Regions from separate parts of the Homo sapiens genome. Here all the other regions are linked to region 1. The links are contacts of gene promoters, found by promoter capture Hi-C in blood cells and fetal thymus (Javierre and others, 2016). All regions are on one chromosome and are shown on one strand. The core of a region is centred on a gene start or on the middle of the fragment in contact, and the rest is flanking DNA. Distances in the headings are between cores, read along the strand shown.

Region 1 (7,799 bases), core at 2,018-4,517:
CCTGAGAAAAGGAGGAAGAGGACAGCAAAAAGGAACAAGAGAGTAAGACCTTTCCCAAAGACTACCCTTCCTAAACTATTGACATCTTCCCCTCCATTCTAGACCCCAGACTCTCATAGATATGGGAGGGTAGTACCTGCATAGAACGAGTCTTGGAGCTCAGGAACTGGGTCTGGGGCTTTGTCATAGCTGGCTTGGCTGAGGGGCTCTTGGCTGATGGGCTCAAAGGTCTCCATGCTGAGAAAGGCGGTGTTGGCTGGAGCAGGACCAGCTTGAGCCACCCCCCACGCCTTTTAAAGCCCCTTTGTCTTGTCCCCAGAGCTGGCAGCTGAATGAGCTCACTGTGCTATTTTTGGAGCCTGGCCCTCTCCCTTCTCTGGGCTGCCCCACAAGTGCCGGTGTGATGGATGTGGGCACCTGCCTTCCCTTCCCCCAACCCCACCCCAGTAGACAATGAGGTCTGCTTGACTAAAAATATCTCTGAGCCAGTAGCTACAGTCTCATCCAGCATTATGGGAAGGGAGGGGGAGATAAGTGGAGAATTGAGGAAAGCATAGGATCCTAGGCACGCATCTGGAATTCCTGGGATATTGGACACTCAGGGATGTCAGACTCTCAACTCTCATGTCCTTAGCCTCCACTCCAAACTGAGAGACACAAAGTTCTATAGATCAGGAATCAAAATGGTGGAGGAGAGGGAAGAAATATAACTAGAGGGGGAATCATGAGATTTTGGAGGTAACAAGAACGGTCTCTGTGGGAAAGCACGGGAGGCATAGAGCAGGGAGAACGTTTACCCTTAGACCTTGTTCTGTAGCTCACATCAAAAATAGCAAAGCCTGAGATAAGTGGAATGGGCTTTTTCTGCCCAGGCCAACATTCTTGCCTGAGATAAGGAGCCAAAGCTCCCTCCCTCTGCCACTTCCTCGGGATCTCATGATCATCCCATAGCCTCTCAGTCCCCAGGAATCCGAACTGAACTTGCAAATGTCAAAGGTGCCTGCTATTAATACTATAAAGAATCCTTTGGCCAATGGCTCACGCCTGCAATCCCAGCACTTTGGGAGGCCGAGGCGGGTGGATCACAAGGTCAGGAGTTCGAGACCAGCCTGGCCAACATAGTGAAACGCCGTCTCTACTAAAAATACAAAAAATTAGCCAGGTGTAGTGGCGGGCACCTGTAATCCCAGCTACTCGGGAGGCTGAGGCAGGAGAATTGCTTGAACCCAGGAGGTGGAGGGTGCAGTGAACCAAGATTGCACTCCAGCCCGGGTGACAGTGCAAGACTCTATCTCAAAAAAAAAAAAAAAAAAAAAAAACCAGAAAAAAAAAAGAACCCCTGTAGCTTTGACCCACTTTTATTTATTAATTTTTATTATTTATTTATTTATTTATTTTTAAGACAGGGTCTTGGTCTGTTGCTCACGCTGGAGTGCAGTGGCGCAAACATGGCTCACTGCAGCCCAAACCTCTCAGGCTCAAGCAATCCTCTTGCCTCAGCCTCCCAAGTAGCTGGGACCATAGACATGTGCCACAGTGTTTGGCTAATTTTAAAATTTTTACTGGAGACGAAGTCTCACGATGTTGTCCAGGCTGGTCTCAAACTCCTGGCTTCTGCCGGGCATGGTGGCTCACGCCTGTAATCCCAGCACTTTGGGAGGCCGAGGTAGGCATATCACCTGAGGTCAGGAGTTCGAGACCAGCCTGACCAGTATGGTGAAACCCCATCTCTACTAAAAATACAAAAAATTAGCCAGGTGTGGTGGCGGGTGCCTATAATCCCAGCTACTCGGGAGGCAGAGGCTGGAGAATCGCTTGAACCCGGGAGGCGGAGGTTGCAATGAGCCAAGATCACGCCATTGCATTCCAGCCTAGGCACAAGAGCCAAACTCCATCTCAAAAAAACAAAAAACAAAACAAAACAAAAATCCTGCGTTCATGCTATCCTCCCACCTCAGCCTCCCAAAGTGCTTGGATTACAGGTATGAGCCACCTTGCCCCGCCTTCAACCTGCTTTTAAATACTCCCCTGTCCTGTGTCTGTACTCTGCTTTCACCCAATCATGACACACAATAACAATTATCACCACCACCAAACCCTTCATCTATTTGTGTCCCTTTCCAATTTCCCTACTTACCCTGTTCCTGGGTTGAACTGAATCACCTTACCCTTTTGCCACATTGGTTCAAACAGCAAAAATAATGGTGGCCATGAGAATAATTATGCTCCCCTTCTACTCATTACCCCTCCTGTCCCCAAGACTGTATCCAAGGGTCCCAAGGTAGGGAGAATGTACGGCTATAGAAGGCTGGATTTAAGGCTCAGATTGAAGGATCCTGGCTGGGGAAAAGGGGTTCAGGCACTCACTGGCTTGCTTGGCCTTCTGGGTGTAGGTGGTAGTAAGATCTTCTGCCACTGGGTGGGGAACAGGCCCCACCATAGGGATGAGATGAGGACCAGGTCGGAGGGGGCCATGGGGTAACAGCAGAGCCTCAGCTGGGGGTGGCTGAAGGGCTGCCCCATCCTCCCAAGACGGGGAGCTCACACGGCTGTCACCCTGGCTGGGAGGGCCAGGGATAGTAGGTGCTGGCTCTGCAGGGCTGTCAGACAGGTAGACCTCATCAGGTGGGGCACCCGGAGGGGTGGGCCTTGTGGGGCCTCGGCGGCGAGGTCGACGGGGCTTCTCCTGGGTGGCAGGGCCATCAGCATCACTGTCAGTCTCTCCGTAGTAAGCCTCACTATCAGGAGGTGAACGAAGGCTCCCAGGCTGAAGAGGCTGAGGAACTGGAGCACCAGGGGGCTCAGGACTTAGTGGAGATAAGGGTGACAGCACCTGAAGCTCATGGGGAGATGGAGATTGCACAGGACCCTCGTCTGCTAACCTGGATAGGAAAGATGACAGAGCTTGAGAGATGGGCTGGGTACTGACAGCTAGAGAGATCTGGAAGGGATGGAGGGAAGAGGTAAGGGGGAGGGAAGAGGTAAGGGAGAGAGAAGGCTGTCATACAGTTGGAATGGGTGGGCCGGGAAGAGTGGAGATATGAAGACAAACTGGGAGGCAAATGTGCTTGAAGGGCTGTGAGTGGAAATAGGCTTAGAGGAAGATGTAATGAGGAGGAAACAGGCCAGGGGTTGAAGTAGGCTCATCAGTCAAATACCCACTGACATCCCCATCCCTTAATTGCAGATACATTCAAGCCCTCTGGGAGGCAGACACAAACCATCTGCACTCCAGCAGAAACGCACGAGCAGAAATAGGTACCTGTTAGTTGCTAAAGCCAGGCCAGTGAGACATAGAGCTGAGACAGGCAATGGGAGCCCTGGATTAGGGGAAGAGAAGAGGAGAGAGGTCCATACCGCTGCACAGTGAGGACAAGCTGATTTCCTGAGGCATCGATGAGGCTCATGGCACTGGCATGGGAGAGGTTGGTGCAAGAGACCCCATTGATTGCCAAGAGCTGGTCCCTCTCTCGGAGTCCTGCTCTGCCAGCCTGGCTCCGTCTTCGAATCTGAGATGTTGAAGGAGACACTGTAGGTAAGAGGGGGCTCCAAAGGGAATAGAATGAAAGGAAAAGATGGGAAGGACCCACAGGAGGGGATTTTACTTTGCAGGGTAAGAAGGGTGGGGAGATGCATGGAAGTGGCTGCAGTTGAAGTGGCCTGTCTAGAGGGAAGAAAGTATACAGACTGGAGAAAGAAATACATCATATGGTGGGAAATAGGGTAACCATTGAATGAAAGAGGCTTGGGAAGAACTGCATGGGGTAGGTAACTAGAAATGGTGGTTATTGGCTGGGTGCAGTGGCTCACGCCTGTAAGCCCAGTGCTTTGGGAGGCCTAGGTGGGTGGATCACTTGAGATCAGGAGTTTGAGACCAGCCTGGCCAATGGGTGAAACGCTGTCTCTACTAAAAGTACAAAAATCAGCTGGCCGTGGTGGTGTGCGCCTGTAATCCCAGATACTTGGGAGGCTGAGGCAGGAGAATTGCTTGAACCCAGGAAGCAGAGGTTGCAGTGAGCCATCATGTCACTGCACTCCAGCCTGGGCAACAGAGTAAGACTCTGTCGCAAAAAAAAAGAAAAGAAAAAAAACGGAAAGAAATGGTGATTATCTCCACAAGCTTTTTCTCCAAGGGCAATATCTATATTGGCTGGTAATTCTCTACTAGGCCTTGTAACCCCAGGCGCCATTACACAGTCAAGATTTTAGAACAGTACTCCAGGTTGGAGGGAGTCCAGCGGTATTCTGGGAGATTGTGATTATTTGGGTATATGTGTGCCATGTATACACACAAATGTATATATGCCAAAGTAATAATAGTAGTAGTGGCTACCATTTATTGAGTTCTTACTAAGTGTTGGGCACTGTGCTACATGTATTATTGCATTTAATCCTTAGAATGGTTCCATGAAGTAGGTACAGGTACTATTATTACCCACATTTTACAGTTCGGAAAACTAAGCCTGTAGGGTGAAACCAAAAGGATAATGACTTCATCTGTGAGGCCAGATCTTGCCATAACCCTCCTAGCACCTAAAAAAGTCTTGCCTAGTGAGAGAAAGGATCTGACCTAGGGAAAGAGCACTGAAGGCATGGGCAGGGCAGGGTGAGGCAGGGTAGGGCTGGGCTGGGCTAGGCTGTTCGAGGCAGTTTCAGTTCATCACATATCAGTTTAGTCAGAGAGAAATTAGAACCTTCCCCGTATTTCTGGAGTTTGGAGTAGAGGCACATACCCAAGAGAACAAACACTGGATGACCAGAGCTGGGCCTCTGATACCACAGTGCTGCAGGGAACTGAAGCAGAGCCTTTCCTTTTCCTCTGCTCCCTGGAAACCGCGAATTCTCTTTTCTAATAGACCCCCACAGGAAGCCTGTGGTCAGACGCTACTCCCACTATGAGACTTGAGCATACTTCCCTGCCCACCACCCACCCCATCTTCACAGCCTCCCACCCCCCCAACCCCCGCCATATGCCACCACACATCTCTTCCCAGGATCCCTTGGGTTCCCTTTCCCTGAAGCCTCATTTCAGGGGCTCTCCCTTACCTTAGACACCTGTAACGGTTTCCTCTGCTCGGCCCCCCCATGAAGTCGGAAGCCCCAGGGGGCTCCCCCTGATAGTGTGACCAGCACCTCCTCCTCAGCACCCATCGCTCAGCTTGGCCTATGGCCCCCGGAGTTTGAACAGTGTCCCCAGGAGAGAAGTTGAGGTGCTCGAACCCCGTCTGGGCTTCCTGTCCGGCTGTCCTGCTCCTGCTGCCCCAGGCCTCCCCCCCACACCACACACCACAGGCAGGCAACTTGGCCCTGGGATCATTACAGTCCAGCACACATGTCCCGTCAATCGCAGATGTGCTCAAAATAGATGCCGCTTGTACTCCCCTCCCTCCCCCTTCTGTGTTACTCCTAGAGCTAATTATAGTACAAACTTCTGCCCTCCATGTTCCCAATTCTCCTGCATGGGCCTTTTATTCAGGACTCAGAATACAAACTCTCTGGGCTCTATAACCAATGTACACCCTTTCAGGAACTGTGCCTTCTCTAATAGGACCATGGGCTAATCTCAACTGCTTTCCTCCAAAGACCCTTTCAAAGTGGCAGCAGCAGGGGCTTCAATTCCATAGCTGGCAAAGAATGGCTGGGCTTGCTCCAAGATCCCAGGAAAGAATGCACTCTCGCTATATAAATTTATCTGTTAATTAATAAATGGTGGGCCAGGCATGGTGGCTCACGCCTGTAATCCTAGCACTTTGGGAGGCCAAGGTGGGTGGATTGCTTGAGTCCAGGAATTTGAGACCAGCCTGGGCAACATCGTGAGATGGCCCCCCATCTCTATTTTCTTATTATTAAAAAAAGTTAAAAAAAAAAACCAAAAAACTATAGGCTGGGCACGGTGGCTCACACCTGTAAACCCAGCACTTTGGGACCAAGGTGGGCGGATCACGAGGTCAGGAGATTGAGACCATCCTGGCTAACACGAGGAAACCCCGTCTCTACTACAAATACAAAAAATTAGCTGGGCTTGGTGGCAGACGCCTGTAGTCCCAGCTACTCTGGAGGCTGAGGCAGGAGAATGGCGTGAACCCGCGAGGCAGAGCTTGTGGTGAGCCGAGGTCGTGCCACTGCACTCCAGCCTGGGTGACAGAGCGAGACTCCGTCTCAAAAAAAAAAAAAAAACAAACAAACAAACAAAAAACTATAAAAAAACAAATTACCTATTGCAATACATACGTGGTCATGGAAAGGTGTGTAGGTGTGCATAAACATACCAACCCATGTTAATACAATCTCTACTTGTCTCTAGGTTTCCATTACGAGAATGTCTCTGTTACAAGGCATAACATTATGGTGCTATAACTGTGATTATCAAAGGCTACAGAGTTTCATAAAATAGCTGCCCACCTAGTGTATGCTAAATACCGTTTGCCTTGGCATATGCCTCTATGTCCTAGAAACACTTGGGCTGGGTGCAGTGGCTCATGCCTATAATCCCAGCACTTTGAGAGGCTGAGGCAGGTGGATTGCTTGAGCCCAGGAGTTCAAGACCAGCCTGGATAACATGGTGAGACCCTGTTTCTACAAAAAAATACAAAAAAATTTAGCCAGGCCTGCCTGGTCACATGCTCCTATAGTCCCAGCTACTTGGGATATTGACGTGGGAGGGTTGCTTGAGCCCTGGAGGTCGAAGCTGCAGTGAGTCGTGATCCTGCCACTGCACTGTAGCCTGGGTGACATAGTGAGACCCTGTCTCCAAAAAAAAAAAAGAAAAAGGGGAGAAAACATTGGAGGCAACAGAGGGAGACCTGATCTCCAAGAAGAAAATAGTTGGGATTTTGGGGTCAGAAGAATTGAACTTGGGTTCTTTTTTTTGAGATGGAGTCTCGCCCTGTCGCCCAGGCTGGAGTGCAATGGAGATCTTGGCTCACTGCCACCTCTGCTTCCCAGGTTCAAACAATTCTCCTGCCTCAGCCCCCTGAGTAGCTGGGGCTACAGGCATGTGCCACCACACTTAGTTAGCTTTTTGTATTTTTAGTAGAGACGGGGTTTCGCCATGTTGGCCAGGCTGGTCTCAAACTCCTGACCTCGTGATCCGCCCATCTCAGCTTCCCAAAGTGCTGGGATTACAGGTGAAAGCCACTGCACCCGGCCACCCCCTTTTTTTTTTTTAGACCGAGTTTCGCTCTTGTTGCCCAGGCTGGAGTGCAATGGCATGGTCTCAGCTTACTGCTACCTCCACCTCCCAGGTTCAAGCGATTCTCCCGTCTCAGCCTCCCAAGTAGCTGACACTACAGGCACCCGCCACCATGCCCGGCTAATTTTTGTATTTTTAGTAGAGACGGGGTTTCACCATTTTGGCCAGGCTGGTCTCGAACTCCTGACCTCAGGTGATCCGCCCACCTCGGCCTCCCAAAATGCTGGGATTACAGGCATGAGCCACCGTACCCAGCTTGAATTTGGGTTCCTCAATAACTTACTAGCTGTGTGACCTCAGGCAGGGCAGTCACTTGGCCTCACCAGTAAAAAGAGGATTTAGGCCAGGCTCGGTGGCTCACGCCTGTAATCCCAGCACATTGGGAGGCCAAGGTGGGTGGATCACCTGAGGTCAGGAGTTCAAGACCAGCCTGATCAACATGGAGAAACCCCGTCTCTATTAAAAATACAAAAATTAGCCGGGCATGGTGGCGGGTGCCTGTAGTGTCAGCTACTTGGGAGGCTGAGACGGGAGAATCGCTTGAACCTGGGAGGTGGAGGTAGCAGTAAGCTGAGATCACGCCATTGCACTCCAGCCTGGGCAACAA
Region 2 (7,799 bases), core at 1,560-4,059, 170 kb before region 1:
GATGGCAGGGCAATGTGGCTCACATCTGTAATCTCAACACTTTGGGAGTCCAAGGCAGGAGGATCACTTGAGCCCAGGAGTTCAAGACCAGCCTGGGCAACATAGGAAACTCCATTGCTACAAAAAAATTAAAAATTAGTCTAGGCATGGTGGTGTGTACCTGTGGTCCCAGCTATTTGAGAGACTGGGACAGAAGGATCCCTTAAGCTCAAGAGGTCAAGGCTACATTGAGCCATGCTGGTGCCACTGTACTCCAGCATGGGCCACAGAGTAAGACCCTGTCTCAAAAAAAAAGAAAAAGAAAAGAGAAAAAGGAAGAAAAGGAACCATCTACTGTTAAGTGATAATCAAAAGGTCATTTTAATGCCTCAAGTTTTTAAAAACAAATTAATACTTTCCAAATACACAAAGATTCCATAGGATATACTTGAGTCTTAATAGCTACACAAGGAGAAACAGAAGCACTAGGGCTCAAGCAATAAAAAAATCACAATATACTTTATTTAATCAGACAGAATTCAAGTAATCTTTTTTCACATGGTTTAATGCCTTTAGGGGCAAGAGAGATAAATAGCACTAAATTTTTAAGGCCACTAGTTAACAGGGCAATAAAGACCCCTCAGTCAGCTCATAAATTCCACTGGGAAAAAAATGGCAATTATAATTATATAAACAGAGTTATACAAAGAAATTTATTTGAATTGTTTGAAAGACAGAACAGGAATAAATAGTAGCTTTTCATAAAAACTTCAGAATATGCAGAGTTATTAAAAAAACCTAACACAGGTACTTGTGAAAACTAGGATTAAGTGAAAGCATCTGTGTTAACACTTAACAGCAAATCAAATGACAGTTTATGATTATTACCTCTATACTAAAATAACCTCTGTCCACATAATCGCCAAGAAAAAGGTATCGTGTATTAGCAGGTGATCCTCCTACTTCAAAAAGTTTCATCAGATCAAAAAATTGGCCATGGATGTCACCACACACTGAAACAAGAAGATTATTAGATAAGGGAAAAAAATCTCTAAAACAACAAATTTTACTTAAGTTAAAACGTATTTTACATAAGACATAGTACAAATGCTATCAAGAAATGTCTGAGAAGGAAGTAGTCTATGAACAGTCATGATTAGGATGATGTGTAACCAAGTGTTCATGTGCTCAAGATCTAGAAAAAGATGTAACAGAAATAACGAAATTTGTGGTCAGTGACAAACTGAAATCTACATTTATAAAGATCGTCTCTAGGACTCCAAGGATGTGTTTTAAGTTTCAAGATGACAAAATTACAATGGTGGCAGTTAAAATATCCATTCTAACTCAATACTTTCTGTTGCTCTCTAAATGGTCACTTTTGGTATCTGATATGACATCAAGGTATTTGACCCTAACAATTGAAAGCAAAGTAAGTATTGATCAAATTGAAGTATGGTCAACACAATTGATGAAACCTTCACAAAAGCATATTAGACTAACTTCTACACTCAGATTATTTAGAATCATGTCTATTCACTGAAAACAGGCAATCATTTTTAAGTATGGAAAATAATTTGAAATTCAAGATAATGTCCAAGTAATATTGATTTAGCATACAGTATCATTGAAAACAGTAAGTTGTAAATCCAGGCAACTAAATAATGACATAATAAAAATAATACCCAAAACATGAATAAGCTTACCTGTGATTGGAGCTTCTACTTCTATCATGGTTTTCTCTCTCCGAAGGATGGCAGCACCCTCATTGATAATTCTAAGCGCAATTTCTTCATCTACTCGACCTTCTTTCACCAAGTGGTTCTTCAGAACATCAACCCTGGGTATCCCATCCAAATCAAATACTTCTTCAGATGTCAAGCGATGTGTTGGGGGGAAAGGGACAGCTGCAAATGTTTTTAATTAATAAAAGATAAGTCACCAAAAATACATTAACTTAAAAACTAATAATTGGATCTAGATAAGACTAAAAACTGTAAAGCAGGGATTTTTCTTTCTTCTTCATTTATTGGGTAGAAGTGTTTTTCTAAATAGTAAGCAAATTATACCACTTTTAAAGCTATTTATACTAACATGTTCTTTGTTGAGAATTATTAGAGAAATGAGTTGTCTCACAAAATTAAGTTCTTTCAGGATAACCAAAACTTTTTTGTTTAAGCCAAAACATTTTTAGGCAGAACTCTCAAAATATTGTATTATAGTATTAGATATTCTTTACCTTAAATGAAGTACAATAAATATAATTTAATGCTGGGAGTAGTGAAGCATGTCTGTAATCACGACTACTTCGTAGGCTGGGGCAGGAGGATCACTTGAGGCCAGAAATTGGAGACCAGCCTGGGCAACACAGCGAGACACCATCTCAAAAAAAACCCCACAACACTTTAATACCAAATAAGCCTAACTAGAAAGAAAACCCAAATACAAGGTGATTTACCATGTTCCTTTCTAATAAGAACATAAAAACAATGTTTTCTGACCAACTTGACTATACACTTTTAGAGATATAGACCAAACACCAGATGTTTACTTCTGAAATGCAAATTAATTTAGGAGGCTTAAAATAATAAATCATAATTTCAAAATACTGATTTTTCTCCTACCTTACTTAACGTTTCACAAAACACCTTCATTCAAAATCTTTATGCATATATTCGAAACCAGTGCATTCCTTATCATTGAAGTCACTTTCTGAGTCACCTAACACACATTCTGAAAGCAAATCATACTCATTTCCACCTAAACTGTTTGAGATACAGCACTTTTTGCATATGTGTAAAATGTTACCACTGCAAATTTATCCCTGTAATTTTTTTTTTTTTTTTTTTTTTGAGATGGAGTCTTGTTCTGTCGCCCAGGCTGGAATGCAGTGGCGTGAACTCGGCTCACTGCAACCTTCGCCTCCCGGGTTCAAGGGATTCTCCTGCCTCAGCCTCCCGAGTAGCTGGGATTACAGGCATCCGCCATCATGCCCAGCTTATTTTTGTATTTTTAGTAGAGACCGGGTTTCACCATGTTGGCCAGGCTGGTGTCGAACTCCTGACCTCAGGTGATCTGCCCGCCTTGGCTTCCCAAAGTTCTGGGATTACACGCATGAGCCACTGCACCTGGCCTATCCCTACAAATTTAACCAAAAGTTCCCATTTCATCATAGTTAAGTAGTTGGTTTTTTCACTCCGCAGTACATATTTATGATTTCTGTAAGAAATCACCAACTGTACTGTTTTTAAGTGATATTTGTTGAGTGGAATGGAAAACATGAACATCTATTTCAATGGCATCTAAGCACAATTTTGAGGTCATATACCTAGGAAAAATTACTATATAGTAAGTTTTTCTTATTCCTTTTTTACTGAATCCAACAAGTAAATCTTTATGCATTCAAAATCAGCTTGGACTGAAGCAGTTTCAGGCTCTTTACTGAATAGTACTTTGTTTTTCAAAATAAAGAAAGTGAGAGAGAAATGTACATTAGGAGTCTAATAAATATAGACTGAAATGTAAGGCAGCTCCCTCTTTCCAGATTTTTTTTTCTTTTTTTTTTTTTTTTTAGAAAAATAGGCCGGGTGCAGTGACTCACACCTGAAATCCCAGACTTGGGAGGCCAAGGCCAGTGGATCACTTGAAGTCAGGAGTTCAAGACCAGCCTGGCCAACATGGTGAAACCCCATCTCTACTAAAAACACAAAAATTAGCTGGGTGTGGTGGTGCACACCTGTAGTCCCAGCTACTCAAGAGGGTGACGCAGGAGAATCACTTAAACCCGGGGAGGCAGAAGTTGCAGTGAGCCTAGACTACACCACTGCACTCCAGCCTGGTCGACAGTGAGACTCCATCAAATATATATATATATATACATATATATATCTCTGAGCATATAGTATACAGTATTTTCCTGATGCTTTAGGGTCATCATTGTAATGATCAATTATTACAGAGAAGCTTGGAAATGTACAGAACCAACTGCTCCTTTACATTTCAACTTAAAGTAACTAAAAAAAAACAAAAAAAAAAACTAGGTTAGATTCCTATCAATTACCTAAGAAAGAATATAACCACATTCTCATACCAGGAGAAAACATTAAGGAAGAACTCAATCCTTTACAAGTGAGGTAAGAACTAAGGCAGAGAGATGCCAACCATTTCTAAAAGACTGAAATCACTAATCCCTCTTTTTTTTTTTATTTGCTATCTAGTAAAATAAAACTGGACCTTGTTTATTTTCCCTTCACAAGAAACATGTATTACCATTACTTTTTACTCATCTAGAATAAGGCATTAAAGTATATTTTACCCCCAAATATAGCATGTCAAGATTCTAATAAAATAAAAGCCTCAAAGAATGTTTTTACCAATCAAAGATTAAACAAACCATTATATATGCTATAACCAAATTTGCCCTCATGGTAGAGTAATTGTTTAAAAAATAAACATTTTTAATGAATTGATTACTAAATAAATCAAGTGTTACTTTTGGGACATTACAAAAATGAGAAGGTTAAATATCTCTTACTAATAAACACAAATTTCTGAGATCAAGATAGAATCAGTTTTTTCATCAGGTCAGAGAATTTTTTTTTTTTTTAGCACTCTACTTGGGAAAAGAAACACTATTTAAAATGCTACGTACTGGCTGGATGCAGTGGCTCACGCCTGTAATCCCAGCACTTTGGAAGGCCAAGACGGGCAGATCATGAGGTCAAGATTTTAAGACCACCCTGGTCAACACGGTGAAACCCCGTCTCTACTAAAAATACAAAAATTAGCTGGGTGTGGTGGTGCACACCTGTAGTCCTAGCTACTCGGGAGGCTGAGGCAGGAGAATGGCGTGAACCCGGAAGGCGGAGCTTGCAGTGAGCCGAGATCGCGCCACTGCACTCCAGCCTGGGCGACAGAGCGAGACTCCGTCTCAAAAAAAAAAAAAAAAAAAAAAAAGAGACTCAGTCTCTAAAAAAAAAGCTGTGTTCTACATGATGAATATTTCCTATTTATTTATTTATTTTGAGACAGAGTCTCATTCTTGTCTCCCAGGCTGGAATGCAGTGGCGAGATCTCGGCTCACTACAACATCCACCTCCTGGGTTCAAGCGATCCTCCTGCCTCAGCCTCCCAAGTAGCTCGGATTACAGGCACCCGCCACCACACCCGGCTAATCTTTGTATTTTTAGTAGAGATAGGGTTTCACCATGTTGGCCAGGCTGGTCTCAAACTCCTAACCTCAGGTGATCCGCCTGCCTTGGCCTCCCTAAGTGTTGGGATTACAAGCGTCAGCCACTGTGCCTGGCCTAGATGATATATACTTCCTAACAACCAACAACATAATTCCACTAATTGCTGAATTCTGTTCAAAACATAGAACTTCCTAAAAATCCACCTATGAGACCACTCCCTACTTCCCCCTCAGCCAGACACAAGTGGTACTGCATGTTTTCACGCACACTGTGAATGCTCTACTTCAAGTCACACTGAAGAACTATAATGTATTCACCTGAAAAAGAAAGTATAAACTGACTCCATGCCACAGTTAGTTATCTAAAGACCTGTACTTTCCTACTTATTTTTCAACTCAAGGCACACTTCTACATTTCAAAACCAGCTGGGACAGCTTTTTTAAAATGTGTACAGGTTGAGTGGTAGAAAAACGTCACCTACTCATGAGTAGAGGTAGATGAAAGCTATAGGGAATCAATGTTACCATAACACTGAAAATAAAAATAGGCAGTTTCAAATGAATATGTTTTGGCTGGGCGCAGAGGCTCACCCCTATAATCCCAACACTTTGGGAGGCTGAGGCAGGTGGATCACTTGAGGTCAGGAATTCAAGACCAGCCCGGCCAACATGGTGAAACCCCGTCTCTACTAAAAACACAAAAAATTAGCCAGGCATGGTGGCCGCATGCCTGTTGTCCCAGCTACTCAGGAGGCTGAGGCAGGAGAATCGCTTGAACCGAAGAGGTGAAGGTTGCAGTGGGCCGAGATCATGCCAGTGCATTCCAGCCTGGGAGACAGAGCAAGACTCCGTCTAAAGATAAAAAATAAAAATAAAATAAATTTTAATTTATCAGCAAATAAGAGAAAAAAGGCACGTATAGTGTTGTTTTGCAAGTGGAGAACGGAGCTTCAGCAGGAGACCTGACGGGGCAAAAGATAACTGTCCAAATAGAATTTGGCCTAAAATAAGTTGCTCAATAGAGAGTTAAAATTTTTTTTTCATCAAAAACTAATTCTCTGGCCAGGTGCGGTGGTTCATGTCTGCAGTCCCAGCACTTTGGGAGGCCAAGGCAGGCAGATCACTTGTGGTCAGGAGTTCAAGACCATCCTGGCCAACATAGTGAAACCCCATCGCTACTAAAAACACAAAAATTAGCCAGGTGTGGTGTCGCGCCTGTAGTCCCAGCTACTTTGGAGGCTGAGGCACAAGAATCGCTTGAACCTGGTGGGGTGGAGGTTGTAGTGAGCTGAGATCGTGCCACTGAACTCTAGCCTGGGCAATAGAGACTCTATCTCAAAAAAAAAAATTAATTCTCAACTACTACTTTGTTTTGCAACTCCTAAAGCATTTTAAAGCATTTCCATATAGTTTTCAGGCTTTTTAAAGGTTTTGCTTTTTTTATTTCTAATTCATCTTCAGCCAACTATTTCTACTTTTTTTTTTTGAGACGGAGTCTCGCTCTGTTGCCCAGGCTGGAGTGCAGTGGCGCAATCTCTGCTCACTGCAAGCTCCGCCCCCCGGGGTTCATGCCATTCTCCTGCCTCAGCCTCCCGAGTAGCTGGGACTACAGGCACCTGCCACCACGCCCAGCTAATGTTTTTGTATTTTTAGTAGAGATGGGGTTTCACAGTGTTCGCCAGGATGGTCTCGATCTCCTGACCTCGTGTTCTGCCCGCCTCGGCCTCCCAAAGTGCTGGGATTACAGGCGTGGAGCCACTGCGCAAGGCCTATTTCTACTTTTCCAGAGTTTTTTTTTTTGCCTCCATATATACTTTTTTCTCCTAATTTTCAGACTATGTTTCCTTACTTTTCTATATTTGCGACAGGGAAAAACCAGAAAACAAATGTATATAAATGCAATATAAATAGTCAACAACTGAAATGGCTAATAATATTTGTTGGAACAACCTAAAGAGCTACAAAATCGGCTGGGCGTGGTGGCTCACGCCTGTAATCCCAACACTTTGGGAGGTCGAGGCAGGTGGATCACCTGAGGTCAGGAGGTCAAGACCAGCCTGGCCAACATGGTGAAACCTTGTCTCTACTAAAAACCCCAAAATTAGCCCGGGCATGGTGGTGCACACCTGTAATCCCAGCTACTCAGGAGGCTGAGGCAGGAGAATTGCTTGAACCTGGGGGGCAGAGGTTGCAGTGAGCCGAGATCACACCACTGCACTCCAGCCTGGGTGACAACAAAACTCCATCTCAAAAAAATAAACCAATCAAACAAAAAAGAGAGCTACAAAATCTCCTCAAAACCTAAAAATCTTGATTTGGTAACATTCATTTTGACCAAACTGTTCTGTTGAAAATCTTCCTTTTATCCAAATTTTGACATGAAGGGCATCTCTATATAGTAACCAATAATATTCGCAAGGTATTTTCACTCACATTTAATGTATGGTGGCTAAAAAAACAAGGACTGAAAAACATTTTAATTTAGGAAGTTGGAAAAAGAAACCAAGAACACAGACTGATCAGGAATTGGGAAAAAGGGGGTGGTGGTACAGAGATCTTCTTACTGTTTCTACCACTGGGCAAGGAAACCTGAGAATTAACTGATCCTGTTCCCCAATTCTAAGCAAGG
Region 3 (7,799 bases), core at 299-2,798, 150 kb before region 1:
CTGATAGAACAAACAGAAACCCCTCTCCCACTGTTCTCCTGTGTCCAGAGTGGGAGGCATAACTGCTTTGCCTCCAGTCATCATCTGGGGGCATATCTACTCTTCGAGGACCAGGGGTTCGGGACCCTGGAACAGGATCTGAATTCCAAGCTGACCTCAGGGGTACATGAAGACTGCTAGATGGTGGGTACACAGGATGAACAATGGGAGGGTGGGAGGGTGAATGGAAAAGATCACTCCAGGACTGAGTGTGAGGAACCTGAAGGCCCTTGCTTCTTTCTGGTAGTGTGGCAGTGTAGGTTAGTTGAGGATTGCACCCTGGAGTAGTCAGGAATCTGGTCCCAATATGCTGGTTGGTCTCTGACCAGGGTGCCCAGGAGTTGTCTGTTCTGGAGCGATGGGGGAGGCTCTGGTAGTTCAAAGTCCTTCCTGTGTACTTGGCCCCTTGGGAAGTTTCACCCCTGTCACACATAGCCAGAAACTGCTGGACACTCCTTGAAGTTCCTGGGGAAAGAAAAGAAACCCAAAGACTGAGCATCTTCAGAAAACCATTCTCCTTCCCAGAGAGCCATGCCTAGCTGTGTAGCCCAATTCCCTACTCCTCCAAGAGCATACATACAAGGGAAAGAATGAATCAAGCTGTGCTTTTGATTCCATTTCTTAAAATTCTTAATATACATCAAAATCAAATCTCATACCTCCAACCTGGGCAAATGAAACAGTCTCATGGATGTTGCCATACCTCTACCTCCCTCCACTATAATCTCTCATCCACTATACACACACCTACAAAAGAAGGGCTCCCTAATATATAGCAATATATGGCAAACGTATACTCCCTTTGTGATGACTATACTCCTAGAGCCACCATACCAAAACCTCACGCAGCTTTTCTTTTTAAAAAAAATAGAGACGGGATCTCACTGTGTTGCCCAGGCTGGTCTCGAACTGCTGGACTCAAGTCATCCTCCCATCTTGGCCTCCCAAAGTGCTGGAATTACAGGTGTGAGACGCTGTGCCTTGCTTTTTTTTTGTTTCTCCAACTTTTCTTAAAATGTTACCTTCACTTCAGTTAAGCTGCCTTTGTTTGATCTCTGAGATCTAATGTGGAATGCCTTTTCTTATACATTTATTCAACTTTGGCACTCTTGGTATCTTGGGCTGATAATTCTTTGTTGGGGTTGGGGAGAGACTGCCCTGTGCATTGTGTGATTTATTAATGAAAAATACTTTGCAAAAACAGTATGTTTGGCCTAAAATAGTTCAGCTGACTCTGAGGGTTTACAACAACAACTGAGCAAGTGACAATAATGGCTGTGCTGTTGAGGACATCCCTGGCCTCTACCCACTAGATACCGGTGGTACATCCCCTTTATCCATTGAGAACCACTGCCTCAAGCTTGTACATCCAGTGCATGAGGGGAAAAAAGAGAACATCTCACTCGGAAGGTCAAAGAAAGCCAAAATGATATTGCCCACCTTCCCCACAATTGTCTGGGTCTGTACACATGGTGTGGGTACTCCATGTAAAGGGTCTTTCCAATTCTCCCACTCATTCCTTATCTTCCTAGACCATCCCTCAGCTGAGACTCAGAGGATAGAAGGGGAGAAAACTAGCTCAGAGGATAGAAGGAGAGATGACCATTTCTGTTCTGGGGATGTCCCAAAGACTGGGTATTAACTCCCCTTTGTCAGTTAAAAGCTTATTCTGTCATGACTGAAGCAGGTCATTTTCGTAAGTAGACAGACTCTAGGGGTGCTGGTCTAAACCCTTGGTCTAAGAATCATGGTGCCCAACAAATGATTTAATATTTATCTAGATAAATGCACGACTTTGAAGCAGTAATTCATATCTTCACACCACTCCACCTTGGGATACCCCCCTCCCCATAGGTATACTGATTTGACCCTTGGAGGCCCCTGAAAAGGTACCAAATTCTGGCATATAATATTAGATTTGGGGGAGTTACCTGGGAGTCTATTGGGCTCCCCTGCCATGGTGGGCATCAGGACATCTGGGGACAGGAACTGTGGTTGGGGAAGGTAGAGTTGGGGACCGAGGAGAAACACAGAAGGGTCATGGATGACAGGGAGGGAAGAGGAGCTGGAACAACGGTGCCCGGTTTCCAAAGGCTTCCTCACGTTTGATGAATCCTTATAATGAGACAAGACAAAAAAACATAGAGATGAGGATTAACACAAAGCAGGATGTAGTTGGGTAAACACAGTGAGGCAAGCAAAGGGAAATGGAGGGAACCAGAGCACAAACATGCCTACATGCCTTGTTCTGGAACAGGACCCAATTTACTCAGTTGCTCTCCCTGCTAGCCCTCTAAGAAACTGCAAACTTCAGATCCTTATCCCTTAACCAGTCTTCCTCATATCCCTCACCTTCCCAACCCTATCATTCAGGTCTTTAGCAAACTCCTTAATGCTAACAGTAGAATTAGAGAGATTGAGATAGAAATTTAAAAATAAAAACGAAATATGAGAAATTCAGAAAGCCTGAGAGAATGAGAAAAAAAAATCCTTCACTTATTCTAAGTACTGGGAATGAAACTATATATGTTTAAATGTAGAATCAAGAACTCTACCCCATCTTCTCTCCTGTCACTGCTACACATTCCACAGCTTCCTCTTTTGCCTGTCAAGTTTGTATTTACTGATGCTAATGTCCTGCTCTACTCCCTATTAGTTATCTACTTTTATGATAAATACCCAGAAATATTCCCCTTTAACATCTGAAACACTAACATATCCAAAATTGAACCAAAATCCTTCCAAACTCCTCCTCCTGGCACCTCATTTTCCTAAATCACCCATATTCAAACATTGGCAATGACCTTGATTTCCCACTTCCCATCCACAATTCCATTACTTGCCAAGGACTATCATTTCTACCTATGGGTTTTATATTTAAATTCACCTGGACTACTGCAACAGCCTTCAATCTGCTTTTCCTATCTCCCATCCACTCCTCCTTACTGTGGCCTACAAGGTCCTGTGTGATATGGCCCTGCTGCTCCTCACTTTATTTCCTATCATTCCTGGAGCTTTTACACTCTAACTTTAATATTCCTCAAACACACCAAGCTCATTGCTACCTCAGAGTCTTTATACTTCCTGTTTCTGTTACCAAGAATATTCTTCTGATGGCTCATACTTTCATATCACTGAGATCTCTAATCAAAAGTTACTTCCTTAGAGCTGATTTCCCTCACTACCCTACTATCAGGAATAGCCCTCAAAAAAACCACTATTACCTCTTTACTCTTTATTCTCTTGCCTTATTATTCTTTATCATACTTATCATTGTCTGGCATTATGTCATTTATTTGTTTATTGTCTTCTCCCCTATTTCTTTTTACTTCTGTATCCGCAGCACCTTGAACAGTGCCTAGAACAATGTGGGCACTTAGTAATAATACATTAAATAAAATAATCTATATGCCAGTATGTCTAATTTCCTTTACGAGACTGCAAGCTACTCAAGGGCAGAATTTGTGTTGTTTCATCAGTGTATGCTCACAGCACCTACTACAAAATGGCACAAAGTAAGCATTTATCATACTGCCTAAGGACCAGGTGCCAGTCCTCTCAGCATGTGACACAGCTAATTATTCCTTTCTTCTTTTTTTTTTTGAGACGGAGTCTCGCTCTGTCACCCAGGCTGGAGTGCAGTGGCGCAATCTCGGCTCACTCACTGCAAGCTCTGCCTCCTGGGTTCACACCATTCTCCTGCCTCAGCTTCCCAAGTAGCTGGGACTACAGGCACCCGCCACCGCGCCCAGCTAATTTTTTTGTATTTTTAGTAGAGACGGCATTTCACTGTGTTAGCCAGGATGGTCTCAATCTCCTGACCTTATGATCTGCCCGCCTCAGCCTCCCAAAGTGCTGGGATTACAGGCGTGAGCCACCGCGCCCGGCTATTCCTTTCTTCTTGAAACACTCTCCCCTTGGTGACTATGGTACCACACATCCTTGGTTTCCCTTCAGTCTCTCTAATCTTTTTTTCTCAGTCTCCTTTTAGGGTTCTTCAGAAGAACCACCTTAAATCTGATGCTCTTTAGGGATATGTCCTGGCTCCTCTTCTCTTTCTGCAAGTCTTTTCCTCTTTTTCAATGGCTATGATTCCCAGATTTCAATTTGCAGCTTATATATCTCATTCCAAAAGCCTGCCAGATACCTCCACTCAAGCTTAATATATGTAAAACTGAATGCATATCTTCCCTCAAATATATCATTATCTACCCATAAAACTTGAGTATCATCCTTTATCCCCACTCCCAACATCCAGGCAGGCACCAACTCCCACTGATGTTTACTTCCTAACTGGGTCTCAAATACATCGACTTATCTCTATCCTTCCAAACTACTTACTGTGACATACAGGGCTGTCTGTGGTCCATAATATTCTTTGTATCCTCTCTTGTCAACACTCTCCATCATCTCCCCTTGCCAGACTTTCTAATCCTGCCATACTAAATAAGCTTCTTTTAATTCAGTTAATATTTGCTCAGGTCCCTTTTACTTGCTATATTCTTTTTGCTTCCTCCAGGAAGCCTTCCATGATACCTCAAGCCTGATTTAAATATCCCTTCTATTATGTTCCCATAGGATCAAATCCTTAACACATTATAACTGTTTGTTTATTTATCCGTCCCTCACTGTAGACTGTAAGCTCCATAAAAGCAGGGACTATATCTAACTCACCATTGTAGCTCCAGCACCTAGCACAATACCTAGAACACACTCAATAAGCACTTATTTATTTGTTTATTTTTGTGCTAGGAATCTTGTACAGAATCAATAAGCATTTATTTAAAAGAATGAATCAATGAATGATACAGAAGTCAGAAGAAAGGAAGCCAACTCTCCTAGGAAAAGAACAATTTGCCATTAAATGAATTGAAAGTACATGAGAACAAATGCTAGGCAGGAGAGTCCACCTTTTCCAAAAAAGAATGGCAGCCTGATCAGAATTGCTTAGGAATTTATGAACGATAAATTGAATGAAACTTACTATAAATTCGGCTGGGTTTTTTTGTTTGTTTTGTTTTGTTTTTGAGACAGAGTCTTGCTCTGTTACCCAGGCTGGAGTGCAGTGGCTCAATCTCAGCTCACTGCAACCTCTGCCACCCGGATTCAAGCGATTCTCCTGCCTCAGCCTCCCGAGTAGCTAGGACTACAAGCACCCCCCACCATGCCTGGCTAATTTTTATATTTTTGCCATGTTGGCCAGGCTGGTCTCGAACTCCTGACCTCAGGTGATCCACCATCCTTGGCCTCCCAAAGTGCTGGGATTACAGGCATGAGCCACCACGCCTGGCCTCGGCTGATTTTTAAAAATTGGAAAAATGAGTACCTCTTAGGAGGGAAACTGAATCTGAAGGGCTGGTAGAAGACAGACTTGGTTTTCACCATATATGCTTTTATACCTTTTTATTTTTGTACCATGTATTTAAAATCTGTTTTTACATTTTTCCTGAACTGACCTAGTGGACAACCTTCAATGCACTGGTACTTTGTACCCTGACCTCTACTGTGATGAACACTCAACTTGGGCAAGGAAGTGAAATTCTCCAAAGGTATGATTACCTACAAACCTAGCCACTGATATTATTTAAGTTTGTTGATCTCTAATGGCTTGGGCTTTCCTGCCTCTTCTACTTACACATTACTGCACTAGTACCATATGAAAATTCTCAAGAAGGCTTTTTTCCTCTTCTTGCTGATACACATGCATCACTTTAGATTGAAAACACACTGAATTCTATTCAATCACATACTGGGGGTGAGAGGAAAAAGCAAACCAATACTCCATCCCATTTCTTTCCTTCTTTCTTTGATTAGTGCAGTGGGTTCTGACCCAATCAGCAGCCTTTGCTTCTCAGATTCCTCTCAAGGCTTTATGACTCTTCTCACCCCAGGAAACCCTACAACACGCACGGCCTTTCAGAACTGCTACATGGAATGGACATTCCTCTGGGCTCCAGCTGAATGTTTGTAAATAAAATAATGACTGCGTGTCCTTATTTTTGCTGAGTACACAGGGCCTTTCCTCACATTACAACCTTCACTTTCTCCCTGCTTCTTCACCTGCACTGTATTTTTGCTTAGCAAGGAGGAGGGTGCTCTGAATAGATGGACCCTGATTCTACTTACAAAACTGTGGGAAGAAACCGGAGCTTCCTCCCTCTCTGAGACAACGGTGCCACTGAGACTGCGTGAGATGCGACGTAAATTCTCTGCACTGTACTGCTCATCCTCCCCACACTCCCTGCTGAGGCCTCGGCAAGGTGTAGCCTTCAAACACACAGACACATACAGGCAGACACATAATACCAGACTTATGGTTTTCCCACAGACAGTATCCTCAGGGTATGGGAAAGAGTAGGGGAAGACTCAGTAGTAATAGACACCTGAATTAGATGTATTGGTAAGATAGTGGCCATGTAACAATCTCCTCTAATTCAAAAGAAGCCCAATCATAGACCTTATTTTCTTCTGATAGCCCCATATCACCATGCCTCTGCCTTATCATCATCCCTGTCACATCTCTCCATAATTCCTTCCCCAACACACCACCCCAGGCCCAGCACCTTAGCACCTGAGGCTGCTACCTGAGAAGTACGCACTGTTCTGGCTTCATGGAGACCATGCTCCATTTCTGCTGTTGAAGTCTTTGAGAGACCAGGATCATGGGCTGAGTGCAACCTCCTCCCCATGCCATCTGCAGAGCCTGAAGAGGAAAACACAAATACAAGTTGAGGCCATCTCTTCCCCTAGGGCCTAACCTCTAAGCCTAGCAGCACAAACTCAGGAGCTGTTGTTTCATTTAATAATAAATATGCATCCTTGAATTCAACGGAGGAACATGCTCCTGGAATTTAGAAGCAAGAGGGGCTGGGCGCGGTGGCTCACACCTGTAATCCCAGCACTTTGGGAGGCCAACACGGGCAGATCACGAGGTCAGGAGATCGAGACCACCCTGGCTAACATGGTAAAACCCTGTCTCTACTAAAAATACAAAAAATTAGCCGGGCGTGGTGGCAGGCACCTGTAATCCCAGCTACTCGGGAGGCTGAGGCAGGAGAATGGCGTGAACCCGGGAGGCGTAGCTTGCAGTGAGCGGAGATCACGCCACTGCACTCCAGCCCGGGTGACAGAGCGAGACTCCGTCTCAAAAAAAAAAAGAAACAAGAATTTTAGAATATAGATAGTTTACTGAGTGTCCCCATCTTGCTTCATTTCATTTTTGTAAACATAATCAGCTTCTGTCAGACTTAGGCTCAAGACTTATAGACAGAGGAAAGTATCTAACACAGTGAGTTTTGTTTTCTAACACAGTGATTTTCTAAAGTATCTGTGGTGACAAAGGAAATTATCTCCAGTCTAGTTCAGAATAGAAATGATCATAATAATCATCTATCAAACCTCCTCATTTTATATAACAGGAAAATGAGTTCCAGGGTCTGAGAGTTTAGTAGTTTAACCAGGATTAAAATTAAATCCTCTTGATTTTCAGTACAGTACTCTTACCATCTCACCTGGTGACCTCTTTTACTCTGAGAGCAGGAGCTCCTCAGGAATGTTTTACATATGTAATGCTCTTTTCCCCTTAGCTTCTCTCAAATCATTTAAATTTCTAAACAACCACTAAATGCTTACCTCTTTTCAAAATCTTTCTAGATTGTTCAGTTGCTCTAAACTGGATTGGTGACTCCCAAGGGGCTATCCCCAATCCAACTAATTAAGTTTTCCATTCCAAAACTGTATATGCCCCTGACCTACATTTG
Region 4 (7,799 bases), core at 3,707-6,206, 130 kb before region 1:
CATGCCATTTTAGAGTTAGAACATATCTTTTTTTAAAAAAAAAGCCAGTTCTCTCATTTTACAGGTAAAACCTTGGCCCTGGGATATTAAGTGACTTGTCCAAATTTATACTGAGAGTTAATGTTGGAATCAGGAAAATAGTTCAGGCTTTGGAGTTAAGTGCATCAATGTAAGTTACAAACATTCTTCATGTCTTCAATTTCCAGAACTGACTATGATGTGCACTTCAGGTGCAGGCTCTACTCTTCACTCTGTATTATCTCAGTCAGTGGCTACCCTGTAGGCATATAGTACATTAAAAATTCCTTGAACACCAAACTTGACTTTTCCTAAAGGGATCAGGAAGGTCTTGATATTGCTGGTTCAGTATGATCTGGAAATGTCCACACTGAGCATATGGACATCCTACTGCAAAGCAGACCTGGAGGCTGAATCTTGGGATTCTAAGCCATAGAAGAATATATTTTCCTCTCAGCCTCCCTCCATTTCATGCTGTCATGCTGAATCACTCTCAAACACCTATGAACCATTCTTTTTTTTTTTTTTTTTTTGAAACGGAGTCTCATTCTGTTACCCAGGTTGGAGTGCAGTGGTGCGATCTCAGCTCACTGTAACCTCTGCCTCCCGAATTCAAGTGATTTCCCTGCCTCAGCCTCCCGAGTAGCTGGGACTACAGGCAAGTACCACCACGCCCGGCTAATTTTCTGTATTTTTAGTAGAGAAGGGGTTTCACTATGTTGGCCAGGATGGTCTCGATCTCCTGACCTTGTGATCTGCCCGCCTCGACCTCCCAAAGTGCTGGGATTACAGGAGTGAGCCACCGTGCCCGGCCCTGAACCATTCTTTAGCACAGCATACTGGAGAAGCCATGGGCAAATACTTAGTAATCTCTTACTTTAGAAGGAGGGAAGTTGCCTATGAGTGGTAATTCTGCCCCTTCCTCCACTCTAGCCAGAAAAATGTCTAGGTCTTGTCCTGAAGGCTTTCTGAGTAAAGTCAAAAGTTCTATTACCTCCTACTAAGCTGGGGATAGTATCTGTATAGAACACTCCCTTCTGATCTTTCCCTGCTTTCAGCTTTTATATGATCCTCCCCCCTCCCCCCAACCCCTGGTTGCATTCTTACCTGTTTGGCTAAGTGGGTGCCAGGCGGTATCCTGCTGCCCCCATCCAGAACAGCCAGCTTGAGAAGCCTGAAGACTGGCCTGATACAGAGACTCCAATTCTGAGGTCTCCTGCTCTGTGTCTTGGTTCCAATGTGGATGCAAAAGGATGTGATTTCTCTCTGGATAGGTTACACACGTATGGGAATCATGAGGGGAGGACTTCATTCCTGGCCTAGGTGCCCCATGCTTAAGCTGAGAATCACAGAACCTTGTGATATTCACCCAGGAATCCAAAGGCAAGGAAGTCCCCAAGTCAGTACTGCTGCCCAGATCCTTAGACCTAACATCTCTCACTTGGGACAGCTTCTCTTGGTATATGTCTGGCTCTGCCAACCTGGGCTGTCCTCCGCTAGAAGTTTCACCATTAGGCAGCCCAGAGTTTAAGGCAAGAGAAGAATGTTCAGTGGACTCTTCCCAGGAAAGTGGTCTATCCCCACCCTCCAGAGAGGATTGTTGCTTTGCCCATGGCCAGTGGCCTTTCTCTTGACCCTGTGAGAAAGGAGGCTTAGAATCAGAAGGGGAAGAGTTCTTCCTTAGACTACCTGACAAACTTCTATCCTTGAAACCTGTACTATCCCTCATGGAGACACCCTGCATCCTCTGGAACTGCTCAGCCAGAGAACGGACAAGCCCCTTTGTGCTGGGAAACTCTGGCCTATAGGTCTCCTCACTGCCTCTGTCCACTTTTAAAGTCAATGAAGTTTTGAGGCTTTGGCCTTGGAGGCATTGGTTAGTTTTCTGCACAGGATCAGGACAGTGAAGCACAAATGAAGAAGCAACAGGCATTATGGGGTGGCAGGTTCTATACAGGGGAAGGCTGGGCTGAGCTGATGAATTTGAAGGACTACAGCCTAGGCTGTGTTCATCACCCCTCTCAGAGGTGGCTATTCCAGGCATCACCGGGGAGGGGTTAGCAGGATCCTTCTTTTCTTGGAACAGCTGTTCTTGAGCAATGCCTCTTCCTTCTTGTGGAGGGAGCTTGCTGCAACTGCTGTTGTCACACCTAGAGCCTTGCAGCTTACCCTCTGGGGCATCCAATGGCTCCCAACTATGATGAGAATTCTTCTCAGTCCACCCTGGTGCTTTAGGTAAACCTTGCCTGTGGAATGCAGAGGGTTCAATGTTGTCTACTTCAACCGAAGTCAGAAGCTTCAAGGCAGATCTACTGGGGGAGCTGTGCTGTGGGGCAGATGACTCTGGAGATAGTGATGAGTGTGACTCATGGCAGGAAGCAGGTGAATGGAAGAAAGAACTGGCCCCAAACTCTGTATCCATGCCGGATTCCAGTTGGGCCTCTTGGCTTAACAATACTTGGAGCGGGATAGGCTGTTCACTGAAACAAATGGAGAGAGCTAGTCATAAGCTGCCTTGACTGACAGGAACACTTACAGAAAGAACTCAACATTCCATTCCCATTTCTAGCTATTCACACAGGGAATGGTAAAAATAAACAGAAAGACAAGCACAAGTAGAGTCAGTAGTTCAGAGGATCACAAAAGAAAAGGCACATGGTCAGCTCACACTCAGGTAAATAGGTAACGTTAATCCTCTTTATTAAACACCCTCACCAAAGTTGCACAGTAACATTAAGTGGAGCCCTTGCCAATATTCTTCACTACCTGTGAAGTCGCATTCCAATCACATTCTACTTGCAAATTAGGAAACAAAATCAGCTAGTCTCACATGCAGATGACATGGAAGGTAAGCAAAGCCTGAAAATCACTCATACCAAACAGCAAAAATCCAGGATGCTATACAGGGAGGCAAGTCCTACCTGGGGTCCTGAGAGGCAGCCCGGCCAAAGGAACTATGAGGCCACATTTACAAAATACAGGGTGATTTGGGCTCATGGGAATACACAGAAATTAACCATTTCAAATATGTTTTTATAATCTGGATTTTGTTCTATTAGTCACTGAGATGTTTCCCCAAAGCAATATGACTCTCTTGAGATTTAGGAGTAGGAGTAGGGATTAACTGTATTTAGTTGGTTTCTCACTAATTGTTTTGTATTTCTGACTTTAAAAACTTAATGTTACAAGGACTTAAATAAAGCCTCGATCACTCACATACATCAGGATGTATACGTTTTCTGGAAACGGTTTACCTATCTAAATTGCTTATATTCAAAACAAGCCCCTAAATTTGAATGAAAATATACTATCAACTTTTGAGGATATAGTCACCCAGTCACCCTTATAACATTATGGAGAATATGATTTACTAATATGGGAAGCCCAATCATACAAGGCAATATTACATAATGGTTAAGGACATGTGCTTTAGCATCAAATAGACCTGCAATTTTTTTTTTTTTTTTTTTTTTGAGACAAGGTCTTGCTCTGTCACCCAGGCTGGAGTGTGGCAGTGCCATCACGGCTCACTGCAGCCTTGACCTGCCGGGCTAACCGATTCTTCCACCCAAGCCTCCTAAGTAGCTGGGACCACAGGTATGCACCACCATGCCCAGCTAAATTTTTTGTGTTTTTTGTAGAGACAGGGTTTTACCGTGTTGCCCAGGCTGGTCTCAAACTCCTTGACTCAAATAATCTGCCCTCCTCGGCCTCCCAAAATTCTGGGATTACAGGCGTGAGCTACCATGCCTAGCAGTTAACTATTTTTGAACATTTGCCTTTTGAACATTGAACCCAGGAGGTTGAGGCTGCAGTAAGCTGTGATCGTGCCACTGCACTCCAGCCTGGGTGAAAAAGCAAGATCCTGTCTCCAAAAAAAAAAAAAAAAAAAAAATGTTAACTGCTTTTACTAATTTATATTTTGAAAACTACTCAGAATTATTAACGGTCCAAATTAATGTTTATTTAAATTCATCTATTCTAAGTAAAAGCCAAATTCCAGGGCTAAGATGTGAGAACTACAACAATGACTACTGGAACTTCTTTCCTAGTCCTGACCATAAAGAAGCAAAGCAAAGGGAATCTTTGTGTCTCTTCTCTATGGTGCAATCAGAGCAAGAAAGACTGCTTTCTCTGCTTCCATAAGGATAGGAAGCACTGAAATCCCAAAATAAATCACATGGTAGCTACTACAACATGAAATGTAGCCTGGATTGCCATGTCTAAGAACATAATATATACAAATATAATAATCGCGTTATTACACAAGTCCAGGGCTAAAGTTACCCATGGGAAATGTGGACAAATGGTCTTATTATGCTGTACTTTTTGCATCCTAGGAATTATTAAGATAAGGACCAGCAGTACAATGAGCTTTTCACTGTATGTCTGACCTGAAAGAAGAAAATCTTTTCAGAGGACTCCTCTCTCCCCTTCAGTCGCCAAGACAATGAGAGCTCTTGCTACAGAATACTCATGGTCATTTCTTCCCCTGGCATTCATAAACTAACATGGTTCCCAAGCACTACCTTGTTGGCTGAGAGAGAGTCCCCGCCTGTGTTGGGAGGCAGGCTGAGGGCTGCGACGGCTGCTGTGGTGATTGCTGCTGCTGCATGCGATCCTGCAGGCTCCGTGCTTTTCGAATACTGATTTGCAACTTCTTATCGACTAGGGCTCTGCTGTGCGTGCTACAGCTGGCACCATGCAGGGCAAGTCTTAGTTTAGCTAAAATGCAAAAGAAAATATAGCAGAAACAGAACACAAAACACAAATAAAAATAAAAAGAATAAAATTGAAAAAAAATGAGCAAAGATATGCAGTAAAACTCAAAATATGTAGCAGGAACGCAAGGCATGGACCATGCATATGCTGTCCAGGGCACACAGCTGCCTCTGGCTATAAGGAACATTGATGGAAGCCATGGAGGCCAAACAGGTTAATCCAAATTAAAAAAACAAAACTAAAATAAATCAAGAAGATAAACCAGTGCCTCCATCTTAGAGATTGCCACTCTTGTCCTTTGCATCTGACCTGTCTGACTCTGGTCTCCACACTCTACTCTCACCCCTCTCTTCCCAATGGCCAACAGCAGAAATAAGATCCAAACCTGCATCTGTCTTTATAGACCACAGCTTCTTGTGGGTCACATACAAGAAGCTGATACCAATTCTAAGCCTTAGTCTCTTGCTGTAAGTTTATGGTGCTGCATACTATGAAGGTAGGGGAGAATCAGAAAGAATCAAATACTGAATTAAAAAGTCACAGGCCTGGGAAGTCATAGCCAATTTATTCAGTTTTCCTTCTATAAGCTCCAACCCACTAGCCAGTGACTAGCAAAAGAGCAGACTAATTTCACATCTGAGGTCTAACTTTATCCTGAAATAAGAAGGTAGGCATGACTGGAGAAATCATCTATGGATTCCTTGCTGAGGTTATTCTGGTAAATATCCATAGGCCACAGTGCCAGTGCCAGGTACACTTAGAAATCAAAGGGCAAAAACAGCTAACGCGACTCAGTTTGGGAGAGCAAGAGTGAGGAGACACAAAAACTGTTTTTATCCTGTCTGAGTGACAACACTAATAATACCTATTGTGAAGTTAGTCAAAAGTGCCACAGCCATAGCAGTTAGAGTTACTTACAGATAGCTTCATTACAGAGAGCCAAAGCTGCAGCACAGTCTCCTTTCTGTTCCAGATGTAGTGACTCTTCAAACACTGACTCTGCCTCTTGCAGGGACCTCTCAAAGCCGTCACTCCTCCCTGAAAGGGCCAGCACTTTTCATTTTCATTACAATTCATTCCAAATTTTCCTGTGTACTGTTGTTTCCCTTCAGTACACAGAGATCCTTGCTGCTGAGCCACTGGTCTACCCTTATTCCAACTGTCTATTCCTATTAAGAATTATCTGAAAACAAGCAGGACATCCATTTTGCCTTAACCAAGATGTTACCAAGGCCATGAAAGAGAGGCATGCCATTAATGGCCACATATTCTAACACCAAGACCCTTAGGAAGTCCCTCAAGGAAGGAGCTCCAGTGGTGCAATCGGTTAGCGCGCGGTACTTATATGACAGTGCGAGCGGAGGAAGTCCCTCAAGGAAAGAACAAAGTAATAGCAGAAGGTTAGGTTCTTATGCCCGGAATTGAACTGCTCTTTCCCAGTGCAATTCTTGCCAACTAGTGTCAGAACACCCTAGATGTCAACTAAGACGTTCACTGCTATGTTATGGCAAAGGTAGCTTCATTATTCTGTGGACAGCCATTCATACCACTTATTTACTTCACCAATTCACAGTCCTCTATGCACCACCCTAAACTGGAAAATCAGTGCACTTCTTGGTCACAGATGGTCTACACTTCCTAATCCAATGTATCTGCCAGGGCAGTTGAACTGCCTTCATTCCTGGTTTGCATATACATACTTGTCATAAGCGTTGCTAAGTATTTACTTTCATCATGCTATTCCTCACCAAAACTACCCCCAAAGAAGTCACCTTCCCATACAGCAAGCAGGGAATATTCCATCCTCCTCTCAAAGTGAATGTGTGCCAAAGCAGGTGCAGAAGAGTCTAAAAACAATACCGGATGAAAAGGCTAGGAAGTACAGGCAGAAAAATTTTTGTAAAAGAACTCTCATGTTTATGTATCCCTTGCCCTCTACTTACTCATAATCATACATTGGCAGCAAGCTGTAATGTAATTTCACCTACAAATGGGATTGCCAGTGAGCCTTCACAAGGTTGCAGGGAAAAAAAAATGTCTGAGTCACTTCTCCCATAATGTCCCTCATCCTCCACTTACCTCCAGCAGGACATGGTAAGAAAGGCTCTTCCACATCCCTAACATTCACTTCCTAATTCATCATGACTTTTTGAGAGCAATGGGAAGACAATGGAAACAGCAGGTTGGTTCTGAAGAACTTGGCACTCAGGATCCACTCTATCTCTAGAGGTGTGGTTTCCCTTACTCCCCAGACCTGAAGTTCTCTCATAATATTTGTAATCAACTAAATGTATACAACCTTTATAATCAGAGGTAGGGCGTAGAGCCATTTTTTTTAAGTTCTCTACTCTATGGAGATCTAGACAAGCTATAGTTGATCAATCACTGTACTAAATTTTAATTCTTATCCTTCAGAATCTTAGCATTCCATTCCTTGCTCATGCAGGAAATGCTGAACCACAGTGTATAGAGAACTGACAATGAAATATTGCCAGTGGGATCTCCTCCTAACTTTAATCTATTGCCCAACTGGCAGAGAGAGAAAAAAAGGAGAGAAATGACAAGACCCCTTTTTTCAGAAGCAAAATAAACCTGGGACACCAATGTGATACAGCTTGAGGTCAAAAAGGGAAAAAAGACTATCCAAATATAGAGACAGCTAAGTATTAGGAATTTAAAACTAATTTGGAAACTAATACAATGTCTTGGGAAATATAAGGCAACAATTACCTTGAATCAAAAGAGAGTAGTATTAAAGGAAAAAAGCTGCCCCCAAACAGGATTACTTGGCCCAAGAAGATTCTCTAAGTGTATATAAAAAGAGAAAAGTGGTCAACAGAAAACAGCCAGCAAAGTTAAAAGCTTGCACTTACAAACTGGGACCTTCATACTGCTTTAGCACAATTTGTTGTAAGTGGGGTTTCCGAATTATAAAAACAATAAAGTCATTTTATAGGAAAAAAACTAAGATATATGGCCTATTTAAGGTAGATACTTCAGCTTGGCTGAACTATTTTGAAGGCTAGTCTCTTTTGGTACAAAGTGACATCCTAAAAAAA

The links. Contacts are between HindIII fragments. The CHiCAGO score rates a contact against its expected background, and 5 or more counts as called.
Region 2: a contact is called between a fragment that was not itself captured here and the fragment with the promoter of SYNPO2L-AS1 in region 1, in 2 of 17 cell types (endothelial precursors and total CD4 T cells). The highest score is 6.1, in endothelial precursors.
Region 3: a contact is called between a fragment that was not itself captured here and the fragment with the promoter of SYNPO2L-AS1 in region 1, in 1 of 17 cell types (endothelial precursors). The highest score is 8.9, in endothelial precursors.
Region 4: a fragment that was not itself captured here is called in contact with the fragment with the promoter of SYNPO2L-AS1 in region 1 in 14 of 17 cell types (endothelial precursors, M0 macrophages, naive CD4 T cells and 11 more); the score reaches 11.9 in endothelial precursors.

Annotation. Positions count from the first base shown.
Region 1 is chr10:73,650,772-73,658,570 of GRCh38, forward strand. SYNPO2L-AS1 (SYNPO2L antisense RNA 1) reads left to right here and starts at 3,268. Exons shown (of 3, transcript NR_187519.1): 1 at 3,268-3,535. It overlaps SYNPO2L (synaptopodin 2 like), which reads right to left and starts at 5,258. Exons shown (of 4, transcript NM_001114133.3): 1 at 5,047-5,258; 2 at 3,358-3,509; 3 at 2,368-2,882. The coding sequence starts at 5,151. RefSeq lists a silencer at 5,200-5,494. The HindIII fragment of the contact is 5,539 bases long and covers 1-4,118 here.
Region 2 is chr10:73,477,632-73,485,430 of GRCh38, forward strand. PPP3CB (protein phosphatase 3 catalytic subunit beta) reads right to left here. Exons shown (of 14, transcript NM_021132.4): 2 at 1,686-1,886; 3 at 868-992. Among named protein-coding and RNA genes, the nearest start is that of PPP3CB-AS1, 14 kb to the right of the region's middle. RefSeq lists silencers at 1,026-1,226, 2,586-2,786. The HindIII fragment of the contact is 2,262 bases long and covers 1,679-3,940 here.
Region 3 is chr10:73,498,685-73,506,483 of GRCh38, forward strand. USP54 (ubiquitin specific peptidase 54) reads right to left here. Exons shown (of 24, transcript NM_001391956.1): 21 at 6,624-6,742; 22 at 6,166-6,306; 23 at 1,971-2,154; 24 at 1-504. PPP3CB-AS1 (PPP3CB antisense RNA 1) reads left to right here. Exons shown (of 5, transcript NR_132104.1): 3 at 911-1,003; 4 at 5,500-5,588; 5 at 6,594-7,799. Among named protein-coding and RNA genes, the nearest start is that of PPP3CB, 6.6 kb to the left of the region's middle. The HindIII fragment of the contact is 303 bases long and covers 1,398-1,700 here.
Region 4 is chr10:73,515,250-73,523,048 of GRCh38, forward strand. It overlaps USP54 (ubiquitin specific peptidase 54), which reads right to left. Exons shown (of 24, transcript NM_001391956.1): 18 at 5,659-5,778; 19 at 4,548-4,743; 20 at 1,126-2,498. Among named protein-coding and RNA genes, the nearest start is that of PPP3CB, 23 kb to the left of the region's middle. The HindIII fragment of the contact is 5,288 bases long and covers 2,313-7,600 here.